Linked DNA regions of Homo sapiens: all the other regions are linked to region 2. Evidence: promoter capture Hi-C in 16 types of primary human blood cells and fetal thymus (Javierre and others, 2016). All regions are on one chromosome and are shown on one strand. Each heading gives the region's core, a stretch centred on a gene start or on the middle of the fragment in contact. The rest is flanking DNA. Distances are from core to core; before and after follow the strand shown. Region 1 overlaps ENPP2 (ectonucleotide pyrophosphatase/phosphodiesterase 2). Region 2 holds the start of TAF2 (TATA-box binding protein associated factor 2). Region 3 has its middle 58 kb from the start of COL14A1.

The links. Contacts are between HindIII fragments. The CHiCAGO score rates a contact against its expected background, and 5 or more counts as called.
Region 1: a contact is called between a fragment that was not itself captured here and the fragment with the promoter of TAF2 in region 2, in 1 of 17 cell types (fetal thymus). The highest score is 5.6, in fetal thymus.
Region 3: a contact is called between a fragment that was not itself captured here and the fragment with the promoter of TAF2 in region 2, in 4 of 17 cell types (monocytes, megakaryocytes, fetal thymus and 1 more). The highest score is 9.7, in monocytes.

Annotation. Positions count from the first base shown.
Region 1 is chr8:119,634,581-119,637,345 of GRCh38, reverse strand. All of the region lies in intron 2 of ENPP2 (ectonucleotide pyrophosphatase/phosphodiesterase 2), which reads left to right. Among named protein-coding and RNA genes, the nearest start is that of ENPP2, 2.9 kb to the left of the region's middle. The HindIII fragment of the contact is 1,251 bases long and covers 890-2,140 here.
Region 2 is chr8:119,831,482-119,834,245 of GRCh38, reverse strand. TAF2 (TATA-box binding protein associated factor 2) reads left to right here and starts at 1,405. Exons shown (of 26, transcript NM_003184.4): 1 at 1,405-1,764; 2 at 2,515-2,569. The coding sequence starts at 1,682. It overlaps DSCC1 (DNA replication and sister chromatid cohesion 1), which reads left to right. Exons shown (of 9, transcript NM_024094.3): 9 at 1-270. It overlaps LOC105375728 (a long non-coding RNA gene), which reads right to left and starts at 1,367. Exons shown (of 4, transcript XR_928590.3): 1 at 1,170-1,367. RefSeq lists enhancers at 1,284-1,643, 1,704-1,753. The HindIII fragment of the contact is 3,868 bases long and covers 1-1,479 here.
Region 3 is chr8:120,065,545-120,068,412 of GRCh38, reverse strand. No RefSeq gene overlaps it. Among named protein-coding and RNA genes, the nearest start is that of COL14A1, 58 kb to the left of the region's middle. The HindIII fragment of the contact is 2,044 bases long and covers 444-2,487 here.

The sequences.
Region 1 (2,765 bases), core at 266-2,765, 200 kb after region 2:
GGTTAAGAGTGAGAAAATAGATCACAAAACTTGCAGCCCCAGGGAGCCAAATGGACAAAATGAGTCGTCTTCTGTTGGGGAGGCAGAGGACAGTGGATCACTGAGCTAGAGAATGCTGTTTTTATTTGCAGCAAATGCTCTCTTCAAAGGCCTCTTTTTCACTCCCATTAACACTGACTGTGACTGAACAGACAGGGGAATCAGATCCTTAGCATGGTCATGTGGGAAAGCTAGCAACTTGAGAGCCAACTGCTGGTTCTTTTCAATGAACACTAAAGGGAACTTTTTTTTTCTGTTTCCTCTTAATATATTACTCTGGCTAAAACTGAGATTGAAAGAATTAAATGCTGTTTCCTTAATGAATGTAAAATTGAGTCACTCATTATTTTTAAAGGTGACTTCTTTTGGAAAACAGTCATTAAAATCCTAGGCTGGTACCCTGGAGTCCTGTAACTTGCTGTGTGGTGTTGGGCAAGTCACTTGTGAAGTCTGTTTCCTTAGCTGTACAATGAGGAGCAGACTTAGATGATTTCTACTTTTCTTTCTGGATTAAAAAAAAAAAATCCCAGGAATTATTCTGTTTCATTGCCTCTTGAATTTCTGTGCTCACTACTGGAAAACTTGAAAAGTATAGATTGGATTTATTAGTCTTTGAAAATATTTTGTGTATAGTAAATTATTTCCATGTTATAAGAATAGCTATATGAACTAATGAATAAATGCCACTTCTAGAAAAGTAGTATGGTCTATATTATAATTTATAAACCTAAATGGTCTTAAGTGGGCTACACGAATTTGCTCCTTGAATTATTTAATTAAGTCGTTGGTTATTTTAGGCCTTTATGATATCATCTAAAATAATTTATTAAACTTCTAACCACGTGAAGCTTAGTCTTAGAATACAATGCAACCTAACTCTGAATTTTATGGTTTGGATATGCCTGAATAATTTTTCTTTTGATGTAGCTTATGTGCTTTTTAGGAACTGTGGTTGATTTCTCCTGAATAAAAATCAAGGATGTACTTAGTAAACTAGGTAAAAGCATCCTGTAGACAGTGGAAATATCTTTATGCGTTTAAATGCTGCATATGCTTAGAAAGGATCTCTCTCGATTGACACATGTGACTGGTTATTCTGACCATTAGAAAAGCCTTCCCATCAGAAAATACTGGGTGAATTTTATAAGCCTGTAAGAATAAGACACTAGGTGGGGAGGAGGCAGCCATGCCTATTTCCAACAACATTTTTAGGCGCCAAAGAAATCCTGGGAAGCTCAGTGCTCCAAGGGTGCAACAAATAGAAGGAACACAAAGGGTATTGATATATGGCTAGCTTCGGATTGATCAGAGTGAGATCCACCATTCAAAAGCATGCAGTTGTTTAGTAACCATAGCTTCTCAGAGTCCTCAACAATAGCTGAGAATGTTCTGTACACATGGATGCCCTCGCTGCTGTACTATGGACTGGGGTGTTAGTTTCAAGGTTGTGGCAGTGCAAACAGACTGTCATAATTAATTAACTAACACACTTGTTACCTGGATTTATTGTTAGCGTAGGAAATAATGGCTGAACAGGATTTTTTATACCAGGTCATAAAAGATTTATAGATTTATTAGGAGATATGAAATGAGAAAAGCTACTTATAATTCTGTTGGGTAAATACAATGGGCATTCAGGTTAATGAGACGGTGAGATGGGTGGAATAAATTTTCTAAGAAAATATAAGCCATAACTGTGATTTAGTTTGACATCTTTTTCTCATATGTCTGATGTGGCCCACTTGATTTGCCTTTAAGACTGCAAGAGACTTTATATGTCTACAGGTGTCTGTGCACTCATGTGCACTTGCAGTGTGTATGTTTGTGGTGTTATGCAGGAGTCTATTTTATTGAAACTTGTGATTTAGAAACTGTCTCCAGGTGGAAATAGAATATCCTCTTTGATATGTAAGTAATTTAATTCTTAAAAGACAAAAGGAAATTTGTGAGCTTGTGAATAGCTGGCTAACAGAGACTTAAAAGCTCAGTTTAATTCATCATTGTTTTTAGTGGCTTGAAAGGAAAGTTGAAAAGTATGTGAATGAAATTCATAGGTTCATATGAAATGTAGACTGTCACTAACAACTTTATGGATAAAGCTTTTCTTTGAGAATCATAGGGAAATCAGAAAATGGAACTAGAAGTGAGAAGGTTTATGTTCATTTGATAATTTTAGAAATTTTGCTCTGCAATGAAAAGCTATTTAAATGTTGGCATGGGAGAATGCAGGAAACTGTAAAGGGGACGTAGATCAGCCATTTGCTCTGTGAGCAAAACTCGGTCATTAGGATTATCCTGTCATGGGGCTTTATGTGAAATTTCAGGTAGAAATTGGGGAGTTTGAGTCAATGGAATGAAATTATCTGAACTGGAAGCTAAGGAGGGTACAGATTTTTCAGTTCTTTGTTAAATGGGGCTGTAGTGTAGTGATTTTTCATCTATCTGAAAACTGTAGAGACTCCTCTATCTAGTTTACATACTCAGAAATCTCAGTCTTCCATGAACTTCAGCCTAGATTTTTGAATCAATAAAATCAGCAAATCTTCCCCAAAATTATATTTTGAAAAGAACTTCTAAAATTTGAAAACTATGTACAAAAGTTTGAAAAACCTTTCATTAATGAAAAAAATACTGTAGTTACAGTGAGATGATCTAAAATTTTATCCAGGCCTTGGCTAACTCATACAAGGCCTAGAGATCTAATTTTCCAACCAGGAAAATGGGGA
Region 2 (2,764 bases), core at 156-2,655:
TGATAAAGTTCCTTTACAGCTTTATTTTCCTGATTTGTTTTGGTTTAGATCAAAGTTCAAATTAATTTTAACTTAGCTAATGAACTCATCACCAGGACAGTTGGAGGGGGTAGGCCGAGGTTAAATGGTCCACGTTTCAAAAATGTTAATGGCTAATCCATAATTAAAGAAGGTTTAACTGTTACTGAAGTTTACAAGTTTTATTGTCATGAACATGAAATACAAACACGATGGCTTCGAAATGTCTTTCAATAAATGTTTCTGCATTTATATGGATTATATGATATATATACACAGTCTATATATCTCTATGTAGTCTATTTATTTATTTTGAGAGGGAGTCTCGCTTTGTCTCCCAGACTGGAGTGCAATGGCATGATCTCAGCTCACTGCAAACTCGGCTTCCCGAGTTCAGGTGATTCTGGTGCCTCACCCTCCCGAGTGGCTGGGAATACAGGCGCACGCCACGACGCAGGGCTAATTTTTGTATTTTTACTAGAGACGGGCTTTCACCATGTTGGCCAGGCTGGTCTTGAACTGCTGACCTCAAGTGATATGACTGCCTCAGTTTCCCTAAGTGCTAGGATTACAGGCGTGAGCCACCACGCCTGGCCTGTAGTCTATATTTTATTCTTTTTTTTTTTTTCTGAGACAGTCTCAGCTCTGTCGCCCAGGCTGGAGTGCAGTGGAACGATCTCAGCTCGCTGCAACTTCCGTCTCCCAGGTTCAAGCAATTCTCCTGCCCCAGCCTCCCAAGTAGCTGGGATTACAGGCGTGCACCACCACGCCCAGCTAATTTTGTGTAATTTTTAGTAGAGACGGGGTTTCACCATGTTGGTCAGGCTGGTCTCGAACTCCTGACCTCAAATGATCGGCCCGCCTCGGCCTCCCAAAGTGTTGGGATTACAGGAGTGAGCCACTGCGCCCGGCCTTGTAATCTATATTTTAAAATAAATACTAAGGCAGCAGTGCCTAGTGAGAGCTGTGGAGTGCTGCAGTTTTGACATTTAGACTACCTGCAGTCTAATCACATATTTTACAGCTTAAATCACCGGACCCAGTGTGTCTGTTCACACAGCAAGCCAGAGGCACGCACCTCCTGATTTCGGGAGACTTCCCACCACCCCACCCCGCCCAGTTACTAGCACCCTGCCCCAGCCTATTTATACCTGGCTCTTCGCAAACTTTGTCCTCCATTCTTCTCAATATGCTTGTACTAGAAAACTACCTTCCCTCCTTTTCTTCCTGCTGTTCTCGCTTCATCCATTAAATAGTTTTTTCCCTATCCTAAATTTTAACAATTCTTTACGATAAGACACATGCGAAGATCGCAAGCCCTGCCCATTGACAAGACTTCCTGGTTCTACCCCCGCCGCCGTTCCACTTCCGCTGACGTCGGAGGTCAGAGGTTACAGACAAGATGTCGGCGGATGGTAGCTTCGAGCCCTTGCGGAGAGGAGCATCTCTGTGACAGAAGCTTGTCGACGGCGGCTTCTAGGAGCTAGTCGAAGGAGCGAGGTTGAGGCGGGCAGCGACCCGTCAGGTCGCTCACCTGGGCACCGGCCAGCTGCGAGACGTGACTTGGGGACCGCAGGGGAGTGGAGAGTGTGAGGTGCCAAAGACTAGTAATGCCCCGTATCCCCCTAGGAAGCCGGGAAGCCAAGCTCCGCGGGACCGCTTCATGCCGCTGACTGGTGTAGAGCCCGCCAGAATGAACAGGAAGAAAGGAGACAAGGGCTTTGAAAGCCCAAGGCCATATAAATTATAAGTATTTTTTCATTTCCCTTCCTTCCTTTTGGTTTTGTTGCCATTAATTATATTTTGCGATTGCTTGAAATTGACTTGGTGGGCCTGGGAAACCTAGTGGGAAACTAGAATTTACTCACTGTGATGGAAATGGTGTTTGTAAGGTAAAAATGTTTTGAATGACAGGTTATTCAGCAAATTTAATTCCCGTTGCAAGTTACTAAAGTTTTTGTCTAAGTACTAGATTGTATTTCTGTCAAATCTGTTTTCGTGACTGTTGCTAGATTTTAAAAAATTATCCCAATTGGTAGAGTGTTTTTTTTTTTTTAATTTTTTAATTTTTAAGACGGAGTCTCTCAGTCGCCCAGGCTGGAGTGCAACGGCGCGATCTCGGCTCACTGCAGCCTCCACCTGCCGGGTTCAAGCTTTTCTCCTGGCTCAGCCTCCTGAGTAGCCGGGATTACAGGCGTGTGCCACGATGCCCGGCTAACTTTTGTATTTTTAGTAGAGACTCGGTTTCACTCTGTTGGCCAGGCTGGTCTCGAACTCTTGACCTCGTGATCCGCTTGCCGTGGCCTCCCAAAGTGCTGGGATTACAGGCGTGAGCCACCGCACCAGGCCCCAATTCGTAGTTTTAAAATGAAATATTGACATGTAATTTTGAATTACTTAGAACATAGTCCTAATTTATACTTGGATAGAATTATACTTTGATTTAATAATAAAAATTATTTTTTCCTTATTTTCTTTTTATATTTATTAATATACAACCCATCAGGTCGTCTGCATCAACAACATAAATTTCCAGAGAAAATCTGTTGTGGTAAGTTTATTCTCAACAATTATAAATAGTAACAAGTCCACTATAAAGAGTAACAATCCACCCCTCACAGTACTTAGAAAGTTTGTAGTCTTCCAGATAATTGTGTTTCAAGAATAGGTAAGAATTAAAATTAGGGTCTGTATGATTACAAGTTCCATGGTCCTTCTATTAATACCTATTGCCTCCCAAATTCTC
Region 3 (2,868 bases), core at 216-2,715, 230 kb before region 2:
TTCATCATAACTTCCTTACACTAGGATGAGAAGACATCCAAATGGGTATAGGGCCCATTTGTCCCAGTTTACACCTGTTGTTCCAGCTTAATCATTAACTTTCCTTCTCAGAAGTGTAGCTCTTTCAGTCTCGGAAGTGCCCCAGGTGGATGATAAATTATTTAATCATTGTTCCTGTTGCAATGTGGTTAACTAAAGCAATACAGCCTTTTTCTTTTCTCTTAAAACTGGTTCAAGCTGGTTTTCTGTCACTTGCAAGCAAGAAACATTATGACTGATCTACCACTCTTTTCTGAATTAATCAGGCAATCTTTTCCACAGTACACCTTCTGAATCTGATTGCTTGCATTCTTGCTTGAATTCTTTGGCAGATGCCTGATTCTGTGTCTGGTGCTTGGTCTCCACTTCCTCTGTGGAATTGATACCGTGGGCTCTTCCAAGCTTACTCAACCACCTTGTCCTAATCATGAGTTATTTACTCCCTACGTCACGAAAGGCCACTATAGTCCACAGATTTCATCCAAAAGCTCTAGGACCATGCTCAGAGAGGAAAGCAACCAAGACAGGCCTGGGGAACCACCTGGGTGAATAAACTTCAACTCTTTTCTATACCTTTATATTCTTCTGCTCAAAATTCAAAGTCCTGGAAGGGAATGTTAATTGGTATAGCTTGGGTATGGGACTCATTTTCACTAGGAGAGACTGGGGCACCATGATAGATATCTCACAAGAACCACACAAAATGAAGGAAAGGCAATTTACTCCCAAAATACAGGTTTAGCAAAAGAATAGGAATAGGTACTGGGGGATCGAAAAATATATTCAACAATGTGCATTTAATAATTCAATAGTATAGGCAGCTATTTGTATGTCTATACCATTGAGAGCTGAGTGAACAATTAAAATACATATGATTGGTGCTCAGAAGAATTGGGGTTGATCTTTCTGGAATAACCAAGAATCCCAAATATGATCACCCCAAGTGATAATTTACCTAGTCTTGATCTATTGGACATTTCCACTCTTCATAGTCATGGCAAAGACATTTTGGGCTAGTATTTGTAGGAAGTTTTGGTGGTTTCTCTGATATCCTCATCCCTTGTCTCAAGTCTACCCTGTTGGGTCCTCTCTATCCTGGTGGCCCCCTTAACCCACATCAGATGAAAGCTGGCTTCTAGCATCCTCCTATGGTTCAGTCTCCAGCTTGAGCCCTTTTCCTAGTGTAAATTCTGTGGCTCTATGCTTCTGCCCTATTCTCTTCTTTTGACTTCTGACCTCATGATTTGTTTTCCTATTTACAGCACATCTCACTGCTCTGACCCTCCAGCACTCCCTCTAGAGCTTCATACTGTGGTTCTGTAATTTCCCAACATCCTTAATCTGTAAAAGCCCAAGGCTAATACATTATTCAATCCTGAGTCCTTGTACCTTAGCATTGATCCTTGCAGGAGGCACCTTCAGTGCTTCGCCCTAAGCTGATGAAAAATGTAGTGAACAAAAGTACTGGTCCTGAAGTCAGAAACACCTGATTCATGTTCCAGGTCTGCCATCATCGTCGCTGTGTAAACCTGGGAGTTAGTCTTTCAGCAGAATAATGCCCTGTAGCTTTCCAGAAACTCTGCACACAGTTTTGCAGATTTGTTTTTGTTGTTGTTTTTTTCTTGTTTGTGTTTTTTTTAAGACGAAGTCTCACTCTGTTGCCCAGGCTGGAGTGCAGTGGCATGATCTCAGCTCACTGCAACCTCTGCCTCCAGGATTTAAGTGATTCTCCCACCTCAGCCTCTGAGTAGCTGAGATTACAGGTATGCATCACCACGCCCACCTAATTATTGTATTTTTAGTAGAGACATGGTTTCACCATGTGGGCCAGGCTGGTCTCAACTCCTGGCCTCAAGTGATCCGCTTGCCTCAGCCTCCCAAAGTGTTGGGATTACAGATGTGAGCGACAGCGCCCGGCCCCTTTCCATTTTTCATTTTGTCTCCTAATGTATTTCCACCAAATGCATTGTGTAGATTATGCTTTTTGGCTCTATCTCCAATTCAGGTCCAATACCAGCACCTGGACTTGCTTCTGGATATATCTTTCTGCTGCCCGGGTGCTGACTTTTGGCTGTCTTTCCCATCTGTCATCCTACAGGAATCCACCAGCAGATACAGCCTCTCCAAATGAGCTCCACAGTGCTGCTTCCATTGTACAGTTTTGCCCCCACACTCATATTTATGCTTGTCCCCAGTGTAGCCAGCATCTCAGAGACCCCCATTGTAGCCAGCATCCCATAGAGAGAGCTCAGCATTCAATGAGCGCTGGAAGAGGCTGCCAGAAGCTGATAAGGAGACGTAACAGATTGTGAGTAAAAATGGGGAAGGAAACAGTAAAAGACAGGCAAAGTCAGTTGGTGGTCATGGAGAACAAACGGCAAGGAGATCAAAAGGAAATAGCCTTGCACTTTAACTCCTAGTCAGCATGAATTTTTAAAAAGGGAAGCTTTACGTGAACTTAATCTAGAGTCTAGACATTAACTGTAAAGAAATGTTTCCACCAAAAAAAGGAGGGTATTGAATGAGAACTTGTATTTTTATTTTTTGTGGTAGAATTCTTTTTGGGGTGGCAGGGGTTAGGAGCGGGGGCAAATGAGAGGCAGTCTCTGTTCACGCAAGGAGGGGTGTCAGCCCTTACAGACCCTCCGATTGACCTCACCAGAGTTGCCAGATGAACCAAGGCATGCTTTGTTTCTGGACTTAATCTTTTTCATATTAAGAGGTTTACATCATCCAAAGTCATCCATGATGTAGTTGATGTGAACAGAAGCCATTTCCTACTAGTAAGAAGAGAGTACTTCAGTCCCTGGTTGAAATTGGCTAAAGGGT